Linked DNA regions of Homo sapiens: region 2 is linked to region 1. The links are contacts of gene promoters, found by promoter capture Hi-C in blood cells and fetal thymus (Javierre and others, 2016). All regions are on one chromosome and are shown on one strand. The core of a region is centred on a gene start or on the middle of the fragment in contact, and the rest is flanking DNA. Distances in the headings are between cores, read along the strand shown.

Region 1 (6,937 bases), core at 4,405-6,904:
TCACACTTCTTAAAACTCTCCCACTGTTTCTGTTGTTTCCCTTTGTAGAGGGTCGAAGGGCACACACACATTGCAGAGATGTTTAAACAGTAGAACTGATAGATGTAGCCTGTAGCTGATTGGGGGATGTGGGGGCGAGAAGAAAAGGGGATGTTGAAGCCGATGCCAGGGGGGTTGGTTTCCCTGCTGAGAAGAATGAGGATTCACTCCTGGTCTGTGCCTGGAGTTGTGCCACAGGCTACAGACTGATGCCCCAGAAACCCTTTGCCCCCTGTCTTAGTTCATTTTCTGTGATTATAACTGAACACCACAGAATGCATAATTTATTTTTTTAAAAAAGACATTTATTTAGCTCATAGTTCTGGATGCTGGGAAATCCAAGAGCATGGTGCTGGCATCTGGTGAGGGCCTTCTTGCTGCATCATAACGTGGTGGAAGGCATCACATGGTGAGAGGACAAGAGCACGCACATCAGCTCAGGTCTCCATTCCTCTTCTTGTAAAGCCTCCAATCCTATCACAGGGTCCTACCCTGATAATATTATCTAATCCTAATGACCCTCCAAAGGTCCCACCCATAAATATCATCAACATACGAATTTGAGGATTCGGTTTCCAACAGATGAAATTTGGGGGACACATTAAAACCATAGCTGCTCCCAAACCAGTCTCCTCATGGACTTTATTAAAATGCCAATCTAATAACCTACTGCCCTCTTCAAATTCAGCAAAGAGTTGCCACCACCTTCAGGACAAATTTTAAGCTCCTTCTCTGGCCTACAGACCCTGTCTCTTGCCACCCCATCCCCTACCCTCAGCCCCTCATCTCAGCCCCACCCTTTTTGTCTAGGCTTTCCCCAGTCCTAACGCTTGGCAATGCTCCAGACTCCCAACCACTGGCCCACTAGCTCCTCACTTCAAACACCACACATTCAGGGAAGACTACCCTGACCTCCAGCTCCTGTCAATCTCCCCATGCCCCTTATACCCTGTCACTTCTCCCTAGCACTGCACATTCATGCTATTTTGCCCCATTGTAATTGTTTACAATGATGTGTTTAATGTCTATGTCTTCCATCAGATTGACAGTTTCAGGAGGTCAAGGAAACTAGTGGAATGTTTGCTCTTGGACAAAGAGCCCCTGGAGAGCAGGGCTGGAGCTCCTCGTTTGTCCCCCTCCCCAACGGAGGCAAGGGTGATGCTGGATTCCCTCCCCCTCCAAAAGCCTCTGCTAGGAAAAAGTGACTGGTTTTTCCTCCTTACCAAGAACAGAAGCCAATGTACCGACCTCTGGACTAGGAGCCTCCTTCCCCTGAGTACAGCCTCCTTCCCTCCCTCCAGCCACCACTCCACGCAAGGCAAAAGGGAAAGGCTTCCCATTCATAAGAAAATGTTTCTTCCCCCTTTACTTGTTGCCATGGAGACTGTTCTTCATTAACCTGGCCTGCCAGTTACCATTCTGAGTGAGGGAAGATGGTGGAAAGCTCCAAGCAGGGAGGGCCTCTTTATGCATGCATGCATTCATTGTTTCACCCCTGATCTTAACAAAGTTGTGTAATCTAAGGGTAAGAATTCAGGCTTTGAAGTCAGTCACTGGATTTAAGCTCCAGTTCTGACATCCCATACAATCTTGGACCAGATATTTCACCTGTCTGCATCTCACTTTTGTCATCTGTAATGGAAATAAAAAACGTACCTACTTCATAGAATTGCTTGAGGATTAAAAAAGAATAAAGAAAGTAAATGCCCTTAGCAGAGAGTCTGACACATGGTGAGGGCTCAAAAAATATAAGCTATTATTACGGATGCCTGTGACATGACAGGCACTGGGGAGGCTATTGTGATAAGACACTCCGGTTTGAGAGACTTGGCTTGTTTCTAAATGTTTCACCTTCATGGAGTCTTTCCCACACTTTCATCTTAGTTTTCATAGAAACAACAACTTTTTCTTTTCCCCCTTGGATTTCACTGGTAAAAGACATCAGTTAAATTCCTTAATTACAGTAACAAATGCAACTGTTGTAAACAGGTTTGAAAACAAGCATTTCTGACTCTTGATAAACAACTTCACTGTGAACAAAATGGACAGGCAAACTAGAGCAATATTTTGCAAACCACAACTCATACTCCATTAGTGACTCGTAGAATGAATATAGTGGGTTGTAACCATCAAGGTTTTTTTAAATGAAATAAAAAATAAAATCTCAGGTCATATCACACATAGTCAAGTATTGTTTCATGAAACTTTTGTTTCAGTTCACGTGTGTGTGTGCTGGGTCTCTTACAGTGAATGCTGGTTCCTTAAGCGTGGTGTTCCCTGAGCCAAGAAGATCACACACACACACACACACACACACACACACACACACACACACACACACATTCGTTGCCTGGTTAACTCATTCTCTAGGTCTCAGCTTTCAATAACATAAGTTTTGCATAGTTCTTTGATTAACTGATTATTGGTTATTTGATCCTTTCATGTCTATGTCTCCCCACACACTAGATTTGAGCTCCATGACAGTAAGGAATGTATCTGTTTTGTTGACCTTTGTGGCCCATTTTTTAGCACAGTGCTTAATGGATCACAGGCAAGAGGGAATATGGGGGAGGAGGAGGATTGAGGAGACCAGGGTGACTTCAGCTAGGGTGTGTTTATCTAAGATGCCTGCAGCATTCAAGAGGAGATGAGACCCAGGAGGTAGTTGGCTATACATGTCAGATGAGAGGCTCAAGCTGGGGGTGGAGGTGTTAGGGGCTGAGGAAGGCAGTGTGGTGTGGTGGTTAGGCACAGGGACCCTAGCCCTAGACTGATGAAGTTTGAACCCTTGGCCCTGGTGTAGACTAACTGAGTGAAATTTGGGCCCTACCAAATTCTGTATTCTCAGCTTCCTCATCAAGTGTAGGTACAATGAAGATGTCAGTCCGTTTTCTGTTGTTATATCTGAATACCACAGACTGCATAATTTATAAAGAAAAGACACTTAGCTCATGGTCTGGAGGATGGGAAGTTCAAGAGCATAGCACTGGCATCTGGTTGGCATCTGGTAAGGGCCTTCTTGCTGTGTTGTAACATGGCAGAAGGCATCGCATGGTGAGAGGGCAAAAGCGTGCCTGTCAGCTCGGGTCTCTCTTCCCCTTCTTTTAAAGCCACCAGTACCATCATGGGGGCCCCATCTGTTTGATCTTATCTAATGCTAATTACCTCCCAAAGGCCTCACCTCATCAACATACTGGACGTTGGGAATGGTAGGTGCAAGGAAGGAATAGGAGAGATTTGTTAAAAGACACAAAGTTACAGCTAAATAGGAGTAATAAGCTTAGTATTCTATAGCACTGTGGAATGACTAGAGTGAACAATAATATATAGTTTCGAATAACTAGAAGGAAGATATTGACTCTTACCAACACAGAAAAACGATAATGTTTGAGATGATGAATATGCCAATTACCCAGATCTGATCACTCTACATTATATGTATCAAAACATCACTATGTGCCCCATAAATGTTTAATTATTACTTGTCAATTTTAAAAAAAATTTTAAAGAAAATTACAAAGTAGCTCATACTTAGAAAATAATATATGTACAGGTATGTGTATACACACGCATTTATAAAGTGATACGTATAAAATTACTTACATATATGGTTTAAAGAATAATAAAGACTAGGCAAGGTGGCTCACGCTTGTAATCCCAGCACTCTGGGAGGTCAAGGCAGGAGGACTGCTTGAGCCCAGGAGGTTGAGACTGCAGTGAGCTATGATTGTACCACTGCACCTCAGCCTGGACAACAGAGCAAGATCCTGTCTAAAAGAAAAAAAATAAAAAAGAAGAAAGTAAACATCCATGTGGCCACCACCCAGCCTACAAAATGGAACATTATCTTTGAAGTCCTTTGAGCCCTTTCCTCATTACATCCTCTTCTCCTGCCACCCTTCCAAAAACGACGACTTATTTTATTTTGGTGTTTCAATTCCTTTGCTTTCCATAATAGCTTTGTCCACAAATGTATGTGCATATTCCTAAACCATATTGTTGAGCTTTTTTGCGTTTGAATTTATACAGTGTCATACTTTATGTTTGTCTGCATATTGCTTTTTTTTAATCTAACATATTTCTGAGATTGACTTAAGTTACACCATCTGGCTACAATTTGCTTATTTTTCAGTGCTGTATAATATTCTATAATTTGAATAAATAACAATTTATATGTCTTAAAAAATGCCACCGATAGCCAGGAACGGTGGCTCACGTCTGTAATCCCAGCAGTTTGGGAGGCTGAGGCGGGTGGATTGCCTAAGGTCAGGAGTTCGAGACCAGCCTGGCCAACATAGTGAAACCCCATCTCTACTAAAAATACAAAAAATTAGCTAGGCGTGGTGGCAGGCACCTGTAATCCCAGCTACTAGGGAGGCTGAGGCAGGAGAATCGCTTGAACCTGGGAGGCGGAGGTTGCAGTGAGCCGAGATCATGCCATTGCACTCCAGCCTGGGCAACAAGAGTGAAATTCCGTCTCAAAAACAAACAAAAAATGCCACCGATATATGAATTTGGGCATTACATTTCCAACATGTGAAATTTGAGGGACACATTCAAACCATAGCAGAGGATCAAGTAAGTTAATAAACTGCAACACCGGTACCTGTGCATACTAAGTGCCATATACACGTTAATCATTATCATCATCCTTTCCTTGGAAATCACTGAGGCCAAAGGAGTGGGTGAGACCACCCAGAAACGGAGAGGGCTGAAGACAGAGTCTCAAGAAGCCATCATCTCAGGCTCTTGTGCGGAGAAGTAACAAAGAAACCAGCCGGGGGAGTGGGCAGCACTGCTCTGAGGTCACCGAAAGGAGAAAGATGAGCTGGAGAGAGCTTTATAATGGCTGCATTTGTTTGGATGCTAAGGAGAAGAGAGGCAGGCATTCCGCTGGAGAGAGGGAGGGATGCGTGGGGCAAGGCGGGGGCGGGGAGCCGGTGTAGACGGGTGGAGGGCAGACCGGTACTCTGGTCTATCCCCGCTTCCGGGACGCGTTTTCTAGGGAGGGCGGAGCGTGGATGGCGAGTATGGGGAACTCAGAGAGGGACAGTGTCTTGTCACAGGAAGGGAGGGTCAGGAGGGAAATTTGAAAGAAAACGTCTCTGGGAACCCAGGGCTCTGCACTGCCAGTCCCTGGCTCCTTCTGACAAAACCACTGAGCAAGAAGGAAAAGCCAGACCCCTTGGCAGGATGAGAGGGGTCTCTGCCCGCTGCCGGGCCTGGGGCCTGGGGCCTGAGCCAGGAGGCCTAGGTCCCAGGACCTCCGCCTCCACCCCATGGGTCAGAGCAGCCTGAACCCTGTGCGCGCTCCAGGGAGGGGACCCGGTGTGCGATGCGCGGGGGCTGGGCTAGCAAGGGCAGTGGCGCGAGCGGGACGCAGGATACAAAGCCCGGAGCCACGAGGCTGGCGGCGGGGCGGGGGCCGGAGCGATGAATGGGCACGGCCGGGCCAATCCAAGCGCAGCATTTGCAGCCGCGAGAGAGGGAGCCAATCGGATCCCCGGGGCGGTGGCGGTGGCGGGGGCGGGGACGGAACCAATCAGCTGTGAGGACGGGGCCGGGGGCGGAGCCGCGCAGAGTTTCAAATCGGCTGCGGTGGGCGAGGAGCAGCTGTGCTGCGGCTGTGCTCGGCCTTAGTGGTGTCGGGTGAGTGCGGGCTGGGCACAAGTTTCGCCCTTGTTGCCCAGGCTGGAGTGCAATGGCGCGATCTGGACTCAAAACAATTTTTTTGTTCGGAGGGGAGGGCATCAGGTTCTGTTCACAGGGGAGGGCATCAGGTTCGGACACGCACGGCCTGTGGGGTCGTCTGGGTACCACAAGAAGTCGGATCGAAATCGGGGCGTCTGGTGGGAAGGCCGGGGTCTGGGCGGGTGCGCGTTTGGTCTGGGCGAGCTGGTGAAGAAGATGGTGATCGTGTCCTGGGCCCAGCGCTGAAGCTCGGCTACGGCGTGTCTTGACCCTGCCTCCCCTCCTCGCCTGAGCCAGAGAGAGGAAGGAGGTTGGGATGAAAAGACAGCTGTTTTGGAAACTTGAAGGGCGGGACATCAGAAATGCTGCTGACCCGAGGCCCCTCTTCCAGGAAGCATCCTCCTTCCTGCACCCACACTTACCAACTCGCCCGCCCCCGCCACCCCGCTGCATCCCGTCTCTTCCCCTGTGTCCAGGGTCTCTGTGGGGCCTGGGAATGGGTATGGGGAATGCCTTGCTGATCTGCCTTTCGCCCTCCTCCCCAGGGTCTAGTGGACAGAGAAGACTCTTGGCCAGGCAGATGGCTTCTCGGTGGCAGAACATGGGGACCTCCGTGCGCCGGAGATCTCTCCAGCACCAGGAGCAGCTGGAGGACAGCAAGGAGCTGCAGCCTGTGGTCAGCCATCAGGAGACCTCTGTAGGGGCCCTGGGGTCCCTGTGCAGACAGTTCCAAAGGAGGCTGCCCCTGAGAGCCGTCAACCTCAACCTCCGCGCAGGGCCCTCCTGGAAACGCCTGGAAACCCCAGAGCCAGGTCAGCAGGGCCTCCAGGCTGCAGCTCGCTCAGCTAAGAGTGCTTTGGGTGCCGTGTCCCAGGTAATACTGACAACACTAATCATCTTTTTTATGGAGTGTTTCCTTGGTGCCAGGCAGTTCCTGCCCTCAAAGAGCCTCAAGAATATAGACTTCATGAAAACAGGGACGTTGGTTAGTTCACTGCTGTTTCCCCACCACCCCAGATAGTTCCTGGCACATATAGGTGCTCAACAAATAGTTGAATGAGTGAATGAAAGCATGTCTTGGAGGAAACAGATGCTCACAATACCAGGTGATAAGAGCTGTACGTGATAGGAAATTGCAAAGCAAGTGACCAATAGTGAGGCTCACCAAATGCAAGCTTAGTCGGTGAAGGCTTCCCAGAGGAGGTGA
Region 2 (7,123 bases), core at 799-3,298, 860 kb before region 1:
CCACATGGGGAGGGATGCAATCTCAGCACCGGAAGGTCCCTGAAAGATCAATTTCAGGCCTACCTCTCACAGCCCATCCTGGCTCCCCTATCCTTCCTCTGCTGTCCCCCATGTCAGGTCCCCATGCACAGACATGATCCTCTGGGTGGGGCCCACCAGCTGATTCACAGCTCCACCCAGGGCTGTCAGCCTGCCTCAGCAAGCCTCACCTCTCCAGCGGCGTCCAGATGTGTCAGGCAGCTGTCTCAAAACCCTTCTCTCTGAGCCCTGGGTGCACCCCGCCGGCAATTCATGGATCCAGGGCATTAGCACTGCGGTGGAGGTGGGTTGGCTGGGAGACCCCAGGTGGGGTTCACTTGGGCTGTAGGGGAATGAGGGAGAGTGGCCTACAGGAAAGAGACAAAGAGGTTGGAGACACATCAGAGGGGCAGGGGCAAGGTGCCAGGGAACTGAGCTGGTCTCCTCTCTCAACCAAGAGAGGTCAGGATACACCAGTGAACCCGCTGCAGCCCTCTACAACTTCCTCTAGAGGCTTGTCTGAAGAATGATGTTCTTATAGATACTGCTAGGCAAAAAATCCTCATCTAGGATCAGGAAATTTGCATATCTGTCTTGGTCCTGACTATCTCCCTGTGTAAATCACTACTCCTACTGAGCCTCAGCTGTGCTTTATTGGGCCAACGGCATCTGCAACCCAGGGTGGCTAATAGTAATAATAACAGCAGCAGCAGCAGCAGCAACAACAGCAATGGGAGATCTTATTTATTGAGCACTTACTGTATATCAGACTCTGTGCTAAATGTTTAACCTGGATGATCTCTTTTAACCCTCACACAGCCCAGGGAGGCGGGCTCTCACTCTCCCATTTTGCAGACAGAGAAATAGGCAGAGAGCAGTGAAGTGATTGGCCCAGGGTGATAGTGCCAGGACTGGTGATAGTGCCTGACTCCCAAGTCCGTGCTCATAACTACAATGCCAGGCGAGTACCGGGAATGCACTTGAATAGAAGAGGGTGTGGGGCTCTGAGGTGCAGCAAGGGCCCCCCCAGCAAGCCTCCTGGCTCCAGCATAGTCTGGGGCCTGGATCCCCCTTTGAGAGGGCAGTTCCATGTCACTGCTCAGAGGAAGGCCTGGCAGGGAGGGCTCAGTGGTGGGGTCCCAAGAGGGCAGGGCAGGCATGAGGGCCAGGGGATGTCCCGCGGGCAGTGGGGTCCTCTGTCCACTCACCTGCCCCTTCCTGGGCTTGGGCGCACAGTGACCTCAGCCCCATCTGCTCCCAGGTATGGAGGGCTAGGTCCCAGGCCCGCTGCTCCCCATACTGAGCCACCAGGTACGAGGCCACCTCCATGCCACTCGTCTTCTCTGGCTGAGCGGGTGTCTCACCCGAAGAGCTCCTGGAGTGCGCTTTATTGGCGAGCAGAAGCTGGAACTCCTTCAGCTCCTCCTTCTTCAGGAACTCCAAGTAACAGGCCAGGCGGCCCCAGGCTCCGCCAGCCATCTCTGTCCCGGAGTTAAGAGGGTGTCTGGGGGATGTTCCCAGGTGGTGAGGGTATCAGGCAGGCAGAGAACAGTGCTGTCCTTTGCCTTGGCTCTTACCGTCTCTTATTCAGCATTCGGAACCCAGTTTTATAAATCCCAGGGCACCTACAGATAGACGCCGATAGAGGGGGAGTGGTAGGAAAAGCCAGGGGAGGGAGGAGCCCAGAGGGGCCTGCAAGACACTGGAAGAAGTCAGCTGATAGGGAGGTCCTGGGATGGGGTCCAGGGCCAGGCAGGGAGGGTGAGGGTGAGGGGAGATGTGGTGACGGGAGATGGGGTGTGGGCAACGCTCACTGTTCTGTGTTCCTCAGATTCTTCCCTCTCCTGGGTCCTGGACTCCTGAGATCAACCCTTGAGCTGCAAGGCTGAGAAGAGGTGGGGTGGGAGGAGCCGCAGAGCAGGGAATGGGCTTTCAGAACCCAGAGTGGAGCCCCGGGCTGCTGGCTCCCAGGTTTCTTCAGACCTCTCCAGGCCCTGGGGCACCAGCCAGCAAGAACAGCGCCTAGTCAACAAGAGCAGGAAGGAAACGTCACCCAGAGGAAACCCACAAGGGGCGTGGCCAGGGGGTAGGATCAAACCAGGCCTGGGTAGGCCAGACTCAGAGTCACAGATTCAGATGGGCCACATGGCATCTATAGGCGGACCAGGAGCACAGGCCCAGACCAGCTGACGCTGCAGCAGGTACAGGCCCATACTAAACACGGTGTGTGCACCTCCACATGGGCACTCCGCCAGCCCATCATCTAGAGCCTGTCTGCAGAGCCAGGATGCAGACTCTCCGAGCAGTTGTGTCTGCAGCCCAGGCCCAGCCTCTCAGGATGGGTGGGGCCCCCTGTGTCTGCCCGGGCAGCTCCTTATTGGGAAACATTAGAACTGGGCCAGGGAGCATTTTTCCCAGCCTCTCATGGTTTTGGGAGCTTCTTGAGTTGCACTGCATGTCCTGCCATGCTACCAGGGGCACTAAAGCATGTGTCCCAGGCCCAGGGGGCTGTTTGCCTTCTGGGCAGCCCAGCACTTAGCTGGTGAACATTTCCACCTGAAAGCAGAACAGCCCCTTCCTCATTCCTGCAAGCAGGCCTCGGGGAGCCAGGGGCAGACTTCCTCTTTCGTGGAATCTGCAAGATGCCAATGACTTCAGGTTGAGGAATGACATTGCCTACTCATTTGCTGATGTAACACACCACCAGGAATTTCTGGAGATGCTTTGGTTTCACTTGGACTGGCAGAGCCCAGGCTTCAACCCACGGCTTGCTTGGACAAGGACTCCTTATGTGCCTGATTTATTTCTTTGAGCCTCAGTTTGCCCATCTATTAAATGGGACATCATAGGTTTACCAAGAGGCTTCAATTCAGCAAAAGGTCTTAGAGTCTCTCTCTCTTTCCCAGGCTGGAGTGCAGTGGCAAGATCTCGGCTCACTGCAAGCTCCCTCCACCTCCTGGGTTCCAGCGATTCTCCTGCATCAGCCCAGCTTCCTGGGCAGTTGGGATTACAGTCACTCACCACCACGCCTGGCTAATTGTTTTGTATTTTTAGTAGAGATGGGGTTTCACCATGTTAGCCAGTCTGATCCGAGGTGATCCGCCCACTTCGGCCTCCCGAAATGTTGGGATTACAGGTGTGAGCCTCCGTGCCTGGCCTAAATAAATTTTATAAATGTTAGTTTTAAAAAATGGCTAATAAGCACATTGTAGGACATTCTAATATCAGATTGACCAGAAGTGGAAAAGTGCTGTGCTAAAAGTGGGATGATCGGGAGGCTCTGAGCACTCCGTGAAGGACCGTGAGACTCCATGTAGCGGGAGGAATGGCCTGGAGGAGGGCTGTGTGGGCTTTTTTTCCTCCTCACACCAGCCAGTTCTGGCACCAACTCTCTAGACACCAACTGGTGTCCTACAGTGCAATTCTGACACTGACTGCCTGGAGTTGGCATCAAACCTCACAGGTTTAGGGTTTCAGTGAAGAGCTGGCCTCATATCAGATGCCAGTTGCAAATGGGGTGCCCAGACCACTGGCATCTCTGTCTGACTTGGTGACAAATTCAAGGGTTCCCACAGTCCCCGGCAGGTTCAATAATTTGCTGAAATGACTCACAGGACTGAGAAAAGCACTTTATTTATTATTATCGGTTCATGATGGAGGATACGACTCAGGAATAGCCCAACGGAAGAGATGCCGAGGTCAAGGTGTGGGTGGGGGAGGGGCACAGCGCTTCCTTGCCCTCCCGGGCACCCTACTCTCCCTGCCCCTCCCTGCTTCACTAACCTGGAAGCTCTCCAAACCCCAAACAAACAAGACTGTGGGGTTTTCTCGGAGGTTTCACTTCACAGGCATAATTCATTAAATCACTGGCCGCTGGAGATCCACTCAACCTGTTAAATAGATCAGAAACCTGACCCTTCCCACCACGCCCACTGGGGCTGCTGGTCCAGCCTTCAGTCGTCTCTTACTGGGATCACTGTGCTAGCCTTCCACATGTTCTCCACCCATGCTGATGCTTCCCCTTTACTGTCTACTCTCAGTCTAGAAGCCAGAATTATCCACTTAAAGCATAAATTAGGTCAGGTCACTTCTCAGCTCAAAACTTTCCCATACTCCATCTCACTCTGAGTAAAAACCAAAGTCCAACCAAAGGTGTGGTGACTCGTGCCTGTAATCCCAGCACTTTGGGAGGCTGAGGTGGGAGGATCGCTTGAGTCCAGGAGTTCAAGACCAGTCTGGGAAACATGGCAAGACCCTGTCCCTATGACATAATATTAAAAAACTTCCCAAATCCGGCCAGGTACAGTGGCTCATGCCTGTAATCTCAGCACTTTGGGAGGCTGAGGCGGGCAGATCACCTGAGGCCAGGAGTTCAAGACCAGCCTGGCTAACATGGTGAAATCCCATCTCTAATAATTATAATACAAAAAAAATTATCCGGGTGTGGTGGCGCACGCCGTATTCCTTCAGGAGGCTGAGGCAGGAGAACTGCTTGAACCTGGGAGGCAGAGATTGCAGTGAGCCGAGATTGCACCATTGCACTCCAGCCTGGGCGACAAGAGCAAAACACAGTCTCAAACCAAACCAAACCAAACAACAACAACAACAACAACAACTCCCCAAATCTCCCAGAGCCCTCCCAATGGTTCCCGGGGGCTGCATGATCTAGCCCCTGATATCTCTCCGGCATTATATCCTACCCTATCCCCCTCCCTCACTGGATCCTCTTAGTCTTTTCCCTGTTCCTTGAATACACCAAGAATACTCTCACTCCAGGGCCTTTGCACTAGTCTTTCCATTGTCTTGGAATGGTTTCCCCAGATATTCAGAGGTGTGCTATCCAACCTTCTGTAAAGTAGAATTCCTTCATTCCGTGCTTCATTTTTCCGCATGACACTTATTATTGCCTGACGTTACAGACTTGTTTATTTGTTTACCTTCTGTCACCCCCTCCTGCCAATAGGATGTTAGGTCCCTGGAGACAGGACTTGGCTTGTTTTGTTCGCTGTTGTATCCGCTATGCCTAAATCAGTGCCTGGCCCACAATGTCAGCACAATCAATACCACAGACATTGAATGTCTTTTGAACGCTTTCCTTTAATGCTTTCCTTCTTATCCTTCCAAACAGCTACTCACTCTGGCCACTAGATGGCACTCAAGTACTTTCTGAGAATTGAAGCAGCCTCATGGGTTTGGTGGAGAGGACCCACTGGCGCTCTCTGAGCCTGAATTTTTAAAATTATCCCTGTTTCTGGTGCTTTGGGCCTTTGTTTCCTTTCCTTGAGGCATTTTAGGAACACATTAAAACTCACTTTTATTCAAGTCATGCTATTTTCAATTAAAACTTAACTCATGAGGAATATCTGTATGGCCAGTACTCCAGCAGAGTACAGTGAGGCCTTCTCTTTAGGTTCAAATTACTATGACTTGAATCAAGATCTGGATAACTTGAAATCAGCCTCCTTGAAATTCCTCTCCTCCCACCTATTTCTAAGCGTGTCCCAGGCATTGCCTCATGGGGTTCTGAAGTCAGTTCTTGGTTCCCCTCTGATCGACTGGTCTTGACTACCTTGCTGCCGTCCCTTTGGTCTCAGACCCCATTTCTATCCTCCTGAAGTTGCTGGGCCCAGGTGTCCTCTCTGTCACCACCATTTTAGGGCACGGCTCTTTTCTGGCCCATTCCTGAAATGTGGGACAAGATTTTCCCAATTTACGGCACAGCTGAGACCGTGACATGAGGATATGATTTTGAGCAAGAACTTCCCCAAGGTTCAGGGATGAAGGATAGTAAATACATCAGGGCATCACTCTCTGTAGCTGTGGCTCACACTGTCCTCAGAGCCCTCTCTGGTCCAGGATCATCCCTGCTATCCCTTTTCCAGCTGGAGCCCTCTGTAGCTCTGGTGCTTTCCATTACACACAGGCAGGTCATTGCCCAGCCTCAAGATTCTGCAGCCTCCTCTGCCCTTTGGAGGCCAGGACCCTCTGGCTCTAATACTTAGAAAGAGAACAAGCTGTCCTACATTCACATCACTCCTAGCACAGGCCCCAGGATTATCCTCCTTCCAGGATGATCGACATGGAAATATCTAGTCCCTTCAGGTGTGTGCTTGGTATTGTTGGAAATAAAAGCTCGGAGTCACAGAGAAAATGAGCACTCAAATAAAGGATTTTTTCAGCAAGGCAAATTTACTTCTGGAGAAGGGTCTCGCTTGCCCTTCTGGCCACTGCAAGAGCACACTGAACAAAGGAGGGAAGGGGTTTTTATCCCTGACCCAGTCAGTCCCTGATGCTGTGTCCGGGCCCCATTGGCTGGAGTTGGACTGCGCAGTCTAAGCTGATCCTGATTGGCTACTTCAAATGGAGCAGGGGTGGGGGCTACAGCAGCGGGAAGAGCAGTTTTGGCCAAATAAGGTACAGATGTGGGTTGTTTCAGATTGTGAATGGATGTGGGTTACAGACTGGGAATGGATGTGAGTTACAGATTGGGAACGGCTGGAAGGTTGTTTACTGTAACTAGGGGCAAGGAGGCAGAACAGTTAGGCTTTGAAAATAGAGGACAAAGAATGAGAGAATTGAACAAGCGGAACCTTTGAAAAGGAACTCACTGTATCCAACAGTGTTATGGACCCAACAAGATCATCTCAATAGTTTGACAATTCATTTCCCCCAAGTTGGTGTGTTTCAGGCTTAGATAAAACGGTGCTTTGAACATCAACAGGTGAAATCTTTTGTTAAAAAACATAGTCTAGTTCATCCAGCCCTCCTCCTCTCCCTGTTACTCCTCTTCCTCCTTCTAGTCTTTCCTCCAGTGTGAAGTGAAGGAAATATTAGGACTTGGTGTTGCCCCTACCATGGTCTGCTTTAATGTCCTGTGAACTTGGACAAGAATACACATACCCGCATCACCATCTTCCAAGAACACACGATAGCCAAAGGTCACAGTCAATTTACATCGGTTACAACAGAACGCATCTCTCACTCTGAGTATTCTCATTTGATCTTAACTGCATTTAAATCTCAGTAAAGAACAATGACTTGTTCCTGCTTTATAGGCCTAAAACACCCACCAATAAGGTCCTCTTAGAAACCAGGCAAGGCACAC

Evidence for each region. Contacts are between HindIII fragments. The CHiCAGO score rates a contact against its expected background, and 5 or more counts as called.
Region 2: the fragment with the promoter of NLRP1 here is called in contact with the fragment with the promoter of PIMREG in region 1 in 17 of 17 cell types (activated CD4 T cells, total B cells, naive CD4 T cells and 14 more); the score reaches 35.2 in activated CD4 T cells.

Annotation. Positions count from the first base shown.
Region 1 is chr17:6,438,801-6,445,737 of GRCh38, forward strand. PIMREG (PICALM interacting mitotic regulator) reads left to right here and starts at 5,655. Exons shown (of 6, transcript NM_019013.3): 1 at 5,655-5,688; 2 at 6,276-6,604. The coding sequence starts at 6,311. All of the region lies in intron 2 of LOC107985017 (a long non-coding RNA gene), which reads right to left. RefSeq lists silencers at 4,965-5,114, 5,345-5,594, 5,677-5,904 and an enhancer at 5,035-5,613. The HindIII fragment of the contact is 3,587 bases long and covers 3,317-6,903 here.
Region 2 is chr17:5,582,461-5,589,583 of GRCh38, forward strand. It overlaps NLRP1 (NLR family pyrin domain containing 1), which reads right to left and starts at 2,049. Exons shown (of 17, transcript NM_033004.4): 1 at 1,227-2,049; 2 at 210-386. The coding sequence starts at 1,497. RefSeq lists enhancers at 1,387-2,586, 1,858-2,117, 2,138-2,437. The HindIII fragment of the contact is 12,933 bases long and covers 1-7,123 here.